Regions from separate parts of the Homo sapiens genome. Here all the other regions are linked to region 2. The links are contacts of gene promoters, found by promoter capture Hi-C in blood cells and fetal thymus (Javierre and others, 2016). All regions are on one chromosome and are shown on one strand. The core of a region is centred on a gene start or on the middle of the fragment in contact, and the rest is flanking DNA. Distances in the headings are between cores, read along the strand shown. Region 1 has its middle 6.9 kb from the start of TAF7. Region 2 holds the start of PCDHB14 (protocadherin beta 14). Region 3 overlaps PCDHGA1 (protocadherin gamma subfamily A, 1).

The links. The method cuts DNA at HindIII sites, captures the fragments that hold promoters and counts their contacts. A CHiCAGO score of 5 or more calls a contact.
Region 1: a contact is called between a fragment that was not itself captured here and the fragment with the promoter of PCDHB14 in region 2, in 1 of 17 cell types (M1 macrophages). The highest score is 5.8, in M1 macrophages.
Region 3: a fragment that was not itself captured here is called in contact with the fragment with the promoter of PCDHB14 in region 2 in 2 of 17 cell types (M1 macrophages and monocytes); the score reaches 6.2 in M1 macrophages.

The regions. Positions count from the first base shown.
Region 1 is chr5:141,312,580-141,315,279 of GRCh38, reverse strand. No RefSeq gene overlaps it. Among named protein-coding and RNA genes, the nearest start is that of TAF7, 6.9 kb to the left of the region's middle. The HindIII fragment of the contact is 1,485 bases long and covers 649-2,133 here.
Region 2 is chr5:141,221,926-141,224,642 of GRCh38, reverse strand. It overlaps PCDHB14 (protocadherin beta 14), which reads right to left and starts at 1,300. Exons shown (of 1, transcript NM_018934.4): 1 at 1-1,300. The coding sequence starts at 1,137. It also overlaps PCDHB@. The HindIII fragment of the contact is 16,360 bases long and covers 1-2,110 here.
Region 3 is chr5:141,335,591-141,338,510 of GRCh38, reverse strand. The region is part of intron 1 of PCDHGA1 (protocadherin gamma subfamily A, 1); the gene reads right to left. It also overlaps PCDHG@. Among named protein-coding and RNA genes, the nearest start is that of PCDHGA2, 1.7 kb to the left of the region's middle. The HindIII fragment of the contact is 3,193 bases long and covers 1-2,893 here.

The DNA of each region.
Region 1 (2,700 bases), core at 142-2,641, 91 kb before region 2:
GTGTGTGCGCGCGCACCAAACTACAAGCTACTGGATATGCAGTGATGAACAAAGCATTTAGTGTCTATAAACTCATGCACTGCACGGTCTACTGGGATGAGTATCTGTTATAACTAAAGTGTAAATTACCTTTGTTCGTATCTCCTGCTTGGCTTTAAATTTACTGAGATATTTTGCTACATTAGTGACTGTAAACTTACTGAAGAATAGTAGAAAGATCAAAATCTTAACATCAAGACATGTCATGCATGGTTCGTATCCTAGCTCAGTTACCTATTAGTTGTGTGACCTTGCACAGGTAGCAATCTGTTTACCTCAATTTTCTCATCTCCAAAGTGGAGGCAATAATACTACCTACCTCATAGGGTTATTGGGCTGTTGGCTGCTGGCTGCTGAATCATATAAATGACTTATTTAGAACAATGCCTGGAACATAGTAAGTAAACAACAGAAGTAAATTTACCACTATTACAACCCATTAAGGTATGGACCATAACAGATACTAAATAATTAAAGAGTGACTGAAATGTTAGAAAAAGTGTTTATAGGGAAACAACTATTCTAAATGTAATTGTTTTCAAATTTAAGAAATTTTAGAGATCAGTTTCAACCAAATTCAGATGGGAAAAAAAATTCTAAATGAAAGCTTATAAATTAGGTTACAGCAGAAACGGTTTGCTTCAAATTTATCTGCAGCATAAACAAATTTACTCAGCTCTTTCCTCCTACAGTTTAGCACTTACAGTTCTCTTTTCTTGGAATAGTCACCAGATATTCTCATGGATAGCTTTTTGTCACTGAAGGCCCAACTCAACCCTTATTTTCTCTGGTAACCCTATCTGGCCATTCAATCTAATTCTTAAGAAGCATGTGATTTAGATGTTTCATCATGTCAGGTGCTATGTCAAGTGCAGTGGTCTTCATTAAAAAGTTGGAAGGTTCTTTGCTACTATTTTCTAATATATGTGTTCTGGAGGATATGTGCTTAAAAACAGAAGCAGCATCATTCTGGTTAGTTGGAATCAGGGAAATGGTTTTAATTGCTTAAGATTGCCTATTATCTTGGGCAATGTTACTGTATATGCTTGGCTCTGTTTTCTCCAAGTCCAACTGTATGGTCAAATGTATTTCATAGAATTTGACCTCAGGGAATCTGCCTCTGTTACTTGTGTTATTATGCCTGACAATTCATTGAAGGTATTAATGTTCTTGTACTGATCCCTGGCCTTGGTGTTATGGAGTATGGTTTCCAATGTGATATTTTCCTCCAAATAACTTTGTTTAATGGAACTGGGGCATACTGGGACACTGTCATTTACATTTATCTTTAGTTATGGGTATGTGAGTTCCTCTCACTGTTTCACCTCTGGTGGTCATAATGAGATGATGAAAGACTTCCTCTTTCTTTTCTAAATCATTCTGTAAGATCAGCTACATGGTGGTGTCTTTTTTTGTTCTAATTTTAATATCTAGGGAAAAATAAGCATTGCTTTTCAAATTCTAGTTTGCAGACAACATATTCTCATGTTGAAGTTTCAGGTACCCCTTAACTGGAAACTCATGTCAGGCAATAGTCTTACACTAATTTTAATAGATGTCTTTCTACTTGTAAAAGAACACCCGGCTGGGCATGGTGGCTTACGCCTGTAATCCCAGCAATTTGGGAGGCCAAGACAGATGGATCGCCTGAGGTCAGGAGTTCAAGACCAGCCTGACCAACAAGGTGAAACCCCATCTCTACTAAAAATACAAAAATTAGCCGGCTGTGATGGCAAGCACCTGTAGTCTCAGCTACTTAGGAGGCTGAGACAGGAGAATTGCTTGAACCTGGGAGGTGGATATTGCAGTGAGCCGAGATTGTGCCACCACGCTCCAGCCTGGGTGACGGAGCGAGACTCCATCTCAATAAAAAACAACAACAAGAACAAAAAAATCAAAAAACAAAAGAATACCCATGAATTGTCACTCATAACTAGAATTTCACTATCTGGTTTTTCAACATCTGCAGGTATTTTCAATATCAGCATGGGTTTTGTACAGTTTTTCAAAATGTATAAGGCCTTGGCTTTTCTCATCATGTATCTCTTCCTAATTACTGTTGCTATTGAAACATATGACCCCATTCTGTAAGCTTCACATGAATTGTGTTCTACCTTAAGAGACAATGTCCTGAGAGAGCACTATTCTGAAGTCCTTGGTTGTTACTCATGAGAAAGACTTGTCTCATTTCAGGTACATTTTATGAAGAATGCTCAGCAGGGCTGGGCGCAGTGGCTCACTCCTGTAATCCCAGCACTTTGGGAGGTCGAGGCAGGCAGATCACTTGAGGCCAGGAGTTTAAGACCAGCCTGGCCAACATGGTGAAACCCTGTCTCTACTAAAAATACAAAAAATTAGCTGGGCATTGTGGTGGGTGCCTGTAATCTCAGCTACTCAGGAGGCTGAGGCGGAAGAATAGCTTAAACCTGGGAGGCAGAGGTTGCAATGAGCCAAGATCTGGCCATTGCACTCCAGCCTGGGCAACAGAGCGAGACCCTGTCTCGGGAAAAAAAAAAAATGCTCACCAGAATAAGCCCACTGCAGGGGCAGTGTCGCAGTTCAGCCATTTTCTAGTACTTCTAATTCCTCAAATTTCTCTAACATCTGTGCTTCAGTTTCTTTTTCTTATAGTAGCTAGTACATTGACTCCCATTAATAGCA
Region 2 (2,717 bases), core at 51-2,550:
CCCATTGTCTCCAGAGTCTTGGTCTAGGATACTAAAAAGAGCTACTAGGGTCTCTGAGGCATTCTCTGGAATTCTCTTTGTAATCGACGATATGGTCACTTCTGGTGGGTTGTCGTTTATATCCATAACTTTAACTAGAAGGGTGCATTTTCCTGAAAGACCCCCACCATCTGTTGCCTGAATATTTATAGTGTAGGACTGTATTACTTCAAAATCCAGGGGTGATCTCAAATTAACTTCCCCAGATATTGGATTAATTTCAAATGTTTTACGAATATCTTCTGATGCATGGAAAAATGTGTAAGATATTTTTCCATAGTTTCCTGCATCCAGATCCTTAGCTGAGATGGTGGCAATCCAGGAGCCAAGGGGTCTGTCCTCGGGGACTTGCACCTCATAGAGACTCTGAGGAAACTCAGGGGCATTATCATTGATGTCCAACACCTTGATGAGAACCAAAGTTGTCCCAGACTTGGGCGGGGATCCACCATCCACTGCTGTGAGTGTTAATCTGAGTTCAGCTTCCTGTTCATAATCTAAAGCTCTATCTAGGACCAGCTCTGGGTATATCTTTCTGTCACTACTGTCGGGAATTTTAATGTAGAAGTGAGAATTGGGGCTAATTGTGTAGTTTTGGAGACTGTTGCTTCCGACATCCAAATCTTGAGCACTCTCCATTAGAAAGGTAGCTCCAACAGTGGTACCTTCTGATATTTTAATAAGTATTTCCTTGTCTAGAAATGTAGGGGAGTGATCATTTATGTCTTTGACACACAGCTCAAACCGAAAAAACTGTAAAGGGTTTTCCAAAACCACCTGAAAATGCAGCACACAGGGCTCGGTGGAGCCACACAGCTCGTCTCGGTCTAGTTTCTCATTTAGGAGCAAATTCCCAGTCAGCAAATCAAGGTGCAAATACTTTTTATTATCATCAGACACTACCCGGGCTTCACGTGAAGACAGCTCCTCCACCCCCAGCCCTAGGTCCCTCGCTAGATTAGCCACAAAAGAGCCAATTTCTGTTTCCTCTGCCACAGAATAGTGTGCAGATTCAGTACCTGCCCGAGACAATCCCAGCAAAACAAGGAATATTAGAACTTGCCTTTTTCGCAGATCGAGTGCCCCTCTGATCTCCATGGTTCCTTTAGGCAATCTCTTGTGGAAAAACTGAAGCTCAGCCGTAATTTTGGAAGCTGAAGCTCTGGTTTTTAACAGGAACCCCCTGGAGAGTGTATCCTCCAGCAGCTCTGTAGGCGAAGCTCCTTTAATGCCTGTCTTTTCAGTGGGTTGGATGCTTTCTGTTCTCCTGAATAGCGAAGCTCACCGTGCCAGCCTATGTACTGTTTTCGTCTTATCCTGTAGCGCCACCATGTGTCTCCATGTTTTTTTTTTCATTAAAAAAGTTTTCCTCTTTGAAAAAGTAATTCATAAATACATCCGGAACATTCGAAACAAATCCCAGACATCATTTTTTTTCCTTTAAATACTTCACTAAGTATTTTTAATAGGTAAGGCCTTCTAAAAGATAATTGTAATAAAACGTTCACAATCAACAACTTGAGCAATAATTCCTTGGTGTAATTTATACTGCATTTGGTTTTCCCCAGTTCTCTCCAAAATGTCCTTTGCTGTTGGTTTGTTTGAATTTGAATCCAGAAAAGTCCATACACTGCATTATCACTGTTTTGAATGCTCGGCACTAAAGGATCTGTTAAAATATTCTGAACTGAAGAAATAATTTTTTATTTAAGTCATTTCTCGAGTAATTACAAATATATTATCTCCTTCACTCTTGTAAATACTTGTTGTCAGCTATAGTTGGTAATATCATTACTTTTTTCACTTTTATATTTTAAAAATATAAAGAAGGACATGGCACAAATAAGTTAGAGATAATTCTTGCTCTTACAGAGCTCACAAGCTAGAAAAATTGGCAGACAAGTAAACGAAGTATGTCATAATGTATGCATTTATAAAAAGTAATATAGAAATACCTAGAAAAGACTTCTTGTACCTAGGAGGCTGCATACCTTAGTGCTTGGGAATATGGGATCTGGAACCAAATTATCAATATTAGAATCCTGGTTATGTGACTTACTATCTATAAGCTTGGGCAAGTTATAGATACCTTTGTTTCCTCACCTGTAAAATGGGGTAATAATATTTGTCTCCTATGATTATTATCGTAGGCATCTAATGAATTAATATTTACAAAGTGGTTTGTAAGTGCTGGTTAAGTGTCTGTCAAAAATAAAATAATTAAGATCAAAGTCGGACTTGGGACATCAGTGAAAGCTTTCCTGAGGTAATGAAAAATACATTGTGATCTGAAGGAACTAGCCAGGAGAAGGAGGAATATTTCAGATGGGCATTTTGAGGAACACAGAGAAATGAAGTATGCCTTGGACTTTAAAAACTATGGAAGGGGAGGGTCTAACAATGAAATTAGGGTTAAAAGCATGGTGAGAACATGAATCATTATACAGGTCATATCATGCATTCTTGAATTTATCCTAAAGGTAATTCAAGTACAAAGATGGGTTTTAAATATCTGATTAACATGATTACATCTGCATTTTAAAAAATCAGTTTGGCTGCAGTATGGAGAATTAATTTCAGGGGGAGTGACTGGAGAATCAAGGAGATCAGATAAGAGATGATGATCTGGATGAGGATAATGCCAGTGTGGATGGAGAGAAGAGGGATGAATAGAAAGG
Region 3 (2,920 bases), core at 48-2,547, 110 kb before region 2:
AGTATTATTGACTGCTCAAGGCATTAATCAATGCCACCACTGCCCTTGCTCCAAACATCTTCCATCTCTTATTGTATAATCAGAAGCAGTAAGATCAATTAAGAAACGTTAGCTACGTTTTCTTCTAAGGTTATATATTTTGAACGTTTATGGTTGATGGCTTTGCATTTACCTTCAAAATCTGCCTTTAAATTATTGAATCATCAGACACTTAATTGGGTACATGTGCCTCCCACTTTGCATGATTGCAGCTGGAGCTAGAAATGGTGAACATGATAAACACAGGCCCTGGTCTCAAGCGTGAAGGTTGGAGGAGGACATAAGAAAGTAAAGAGAGTATAATAGAGTATGGTAACTGCTGTGATATGAGGTAGGAAACACTGGGTGATGGAGGAATACCTAGGAGGGGTATCCAGTCTAGATTTGGGGTCAGAAAAGTCTTTTTGAGGGCATGATTGAAGCTGAATCATAAAAAGTAGGATTGAATCAAGAAAAAGGCTGAAGAAGTGTTCTAGAACCTCTGAACAAATGCTTGAAGGTAAGAGACAGCATGGAACATTACAGAAACAGAAAGCAGGTCTATTTGATAAAGCTAGAGCCGGAAGGGGTTTTTCACCACACTAGGAATCAGTCACTCAAAATTGTTTGAGGTTGTCAAGTTCTTTTTCTGATATTCATTTTCCAAGGGTGTAAAATACAATGCAGTGGATGTCTTCTTACTCTTGTTTCATCTTTACCATTTTGACCATAGTCAAGCATACAATTCTGTGACATTAAGTACATTCAAATTACATTCTGGTGTGACCATTACCACCATCCACTTCCAGAACTTTTTCATCCTCCCCAACTGAAACTCTGTACTTATTAAATAGCAACTCCCCATTGCCTTTCACCCAGTCCCTGGCAACTACCATTCTACCTTTTTTCTCTATGAATTTGACTAATCTAGGAACTTCATATATGAGGAATCATACAGTATTTGTCATTTTATAACAGGTTTATTTCACTTGATATCATGTCTTTGAAGTTCGTCCATATTGTAGCATGTAACAGAATTCCCTTCCTTTTTAAGGCTAAATAACAGCCCATTGTATGTGTGAACCACTTTTTATTTACCCATTCATCTGTCAATGGACACTTGGGTTACTTCCACTTTTCAACTATTGTGACTAATGATGCCATAAACATAGGTGTACAAATATCTGTTGAAGTCCCTATTTTCACTTCTTTTGGGTAATAACCAGAGTGGAATTGCTGGATTATATGGTAATTCTATGTTTAAATTTTTGAGGAGTCACCATACCATTTTCCACAGCAGTTGTGTCATTTTATATTCACCAGCAATGCACAAGAATTCCAATTTCTCCATATTCTTGTTAACATTTCTTTTCTTTTCTTTTATGACAGCAATTCTAATGAATGTGGAGTAGTATCTCATTATGGTTTTGATTTGCATTTCCCTAATGACTAGTGATGTTGAACATTGTTTCATATGGTTTTGGCCATTTGTATATCATCTTTGGAGAAATGTCTATTCAAGTCCTTTGCTCATTTTAACATCCAATTGTTTGGGATTCTTTGTTGTTGAGTTCGAGTTCTTTATTCTGGATATCCATTCTCAGATACATGATTTGGAAACATTTTCTCTCTTTCTGTGGGCTGCCTTTTCACTCTATTGATATTGTTCTTTGCTGCATATAGTTTTTAACTGTGATAAAGTCCAGTATACAATTTTTTTCTTTTGTTGCTTGTGCTTTTGGTGTCATATCCAAGAAATCATTGCCAAAAATCAATGTTATGAAGGTTTCCTCCTGTTTTCTTCTAAGAGTTGTATAGTTTTAGTTCTTAAACATAATAACTAAAAGGGTTTTATTGCTTCTGAATATTGCTTCTTTGATCCATTTTGAATTAATTTTTGTATGTGGCATAAGTGGAATTGCCCATTTCTGGTGACACTTTAATCTGTTTGCCTTTTGGCTCCTTCCTTATTGAAATTTTCTCATTTTTACTTTCATCCATTCCTCTTACAAGACTGAAGAAAAATATATTGGAAATAATTGATACCAACTCACCATGTTTTCTTGTAGAGCTACTATGGTATATTTTGCTTTTGTTTTTTATTTTTATTTTTGTGTTTGTGTTTGTGTTTTTTTGTTTTATAGAGATTGGGTCTTGTTATACTGCCCCGGCTGGATTCAAACTCCTGGGCTCAAGCAATCCTACTGCCTCAGCCTACTCAGTACCTGGGATTATAGGTGTGCCATTGTGCCTGGCTCTCTTACATGAGTCCTAACGTTAGACTTGACAGAATTTTCATTTTCTCCCCACTGGTTTTATTACATTTATTGTCTGCTTCCATTATTTCATCCTCAGAACTCTTCCATGGTTGCATTTCAAAAATGTAACTCTTTGTTATTTTTTCCATCATTTTATTTTAGTATATACTCATTGTATGTTTTTTATCTTACTTCTTGAATGGCAAGCTAAATTCATGTATTTTAAATAATTTTGTTTGCTTTTAAAAAAATTATTGCATTTGTCTATAAACTTACTCCTAATTAGTTTTAGTTGCATCTCACAATTTTTAATAAAGAATATTTAAGTCCTTTTTTTCTGAGTAGTTTTCATTGTCATTGTGATTTTTGAAATCCAAGAGTTATTTAAGGGTGTAGATGTAAATATCCAAACTTTTTCCCTTTTCTATTTTTAAATGTTTGCTTTGTGATTAAGTATGTGTTGTAAGGCAAGTATATTATTGGTACTTTGCAATTTGCTGAACCCTTTTTTGTAATGACTAGGTAATAAACTTGTAGATTGTCTGCTTGTTCAAGGATGACTATTCCATATTTGTTGTGTGCAGAACGGATCTATTAGAATCCTAATAGATCAAGCTTCTAAATTATGTTGTTCAAATCTTCTT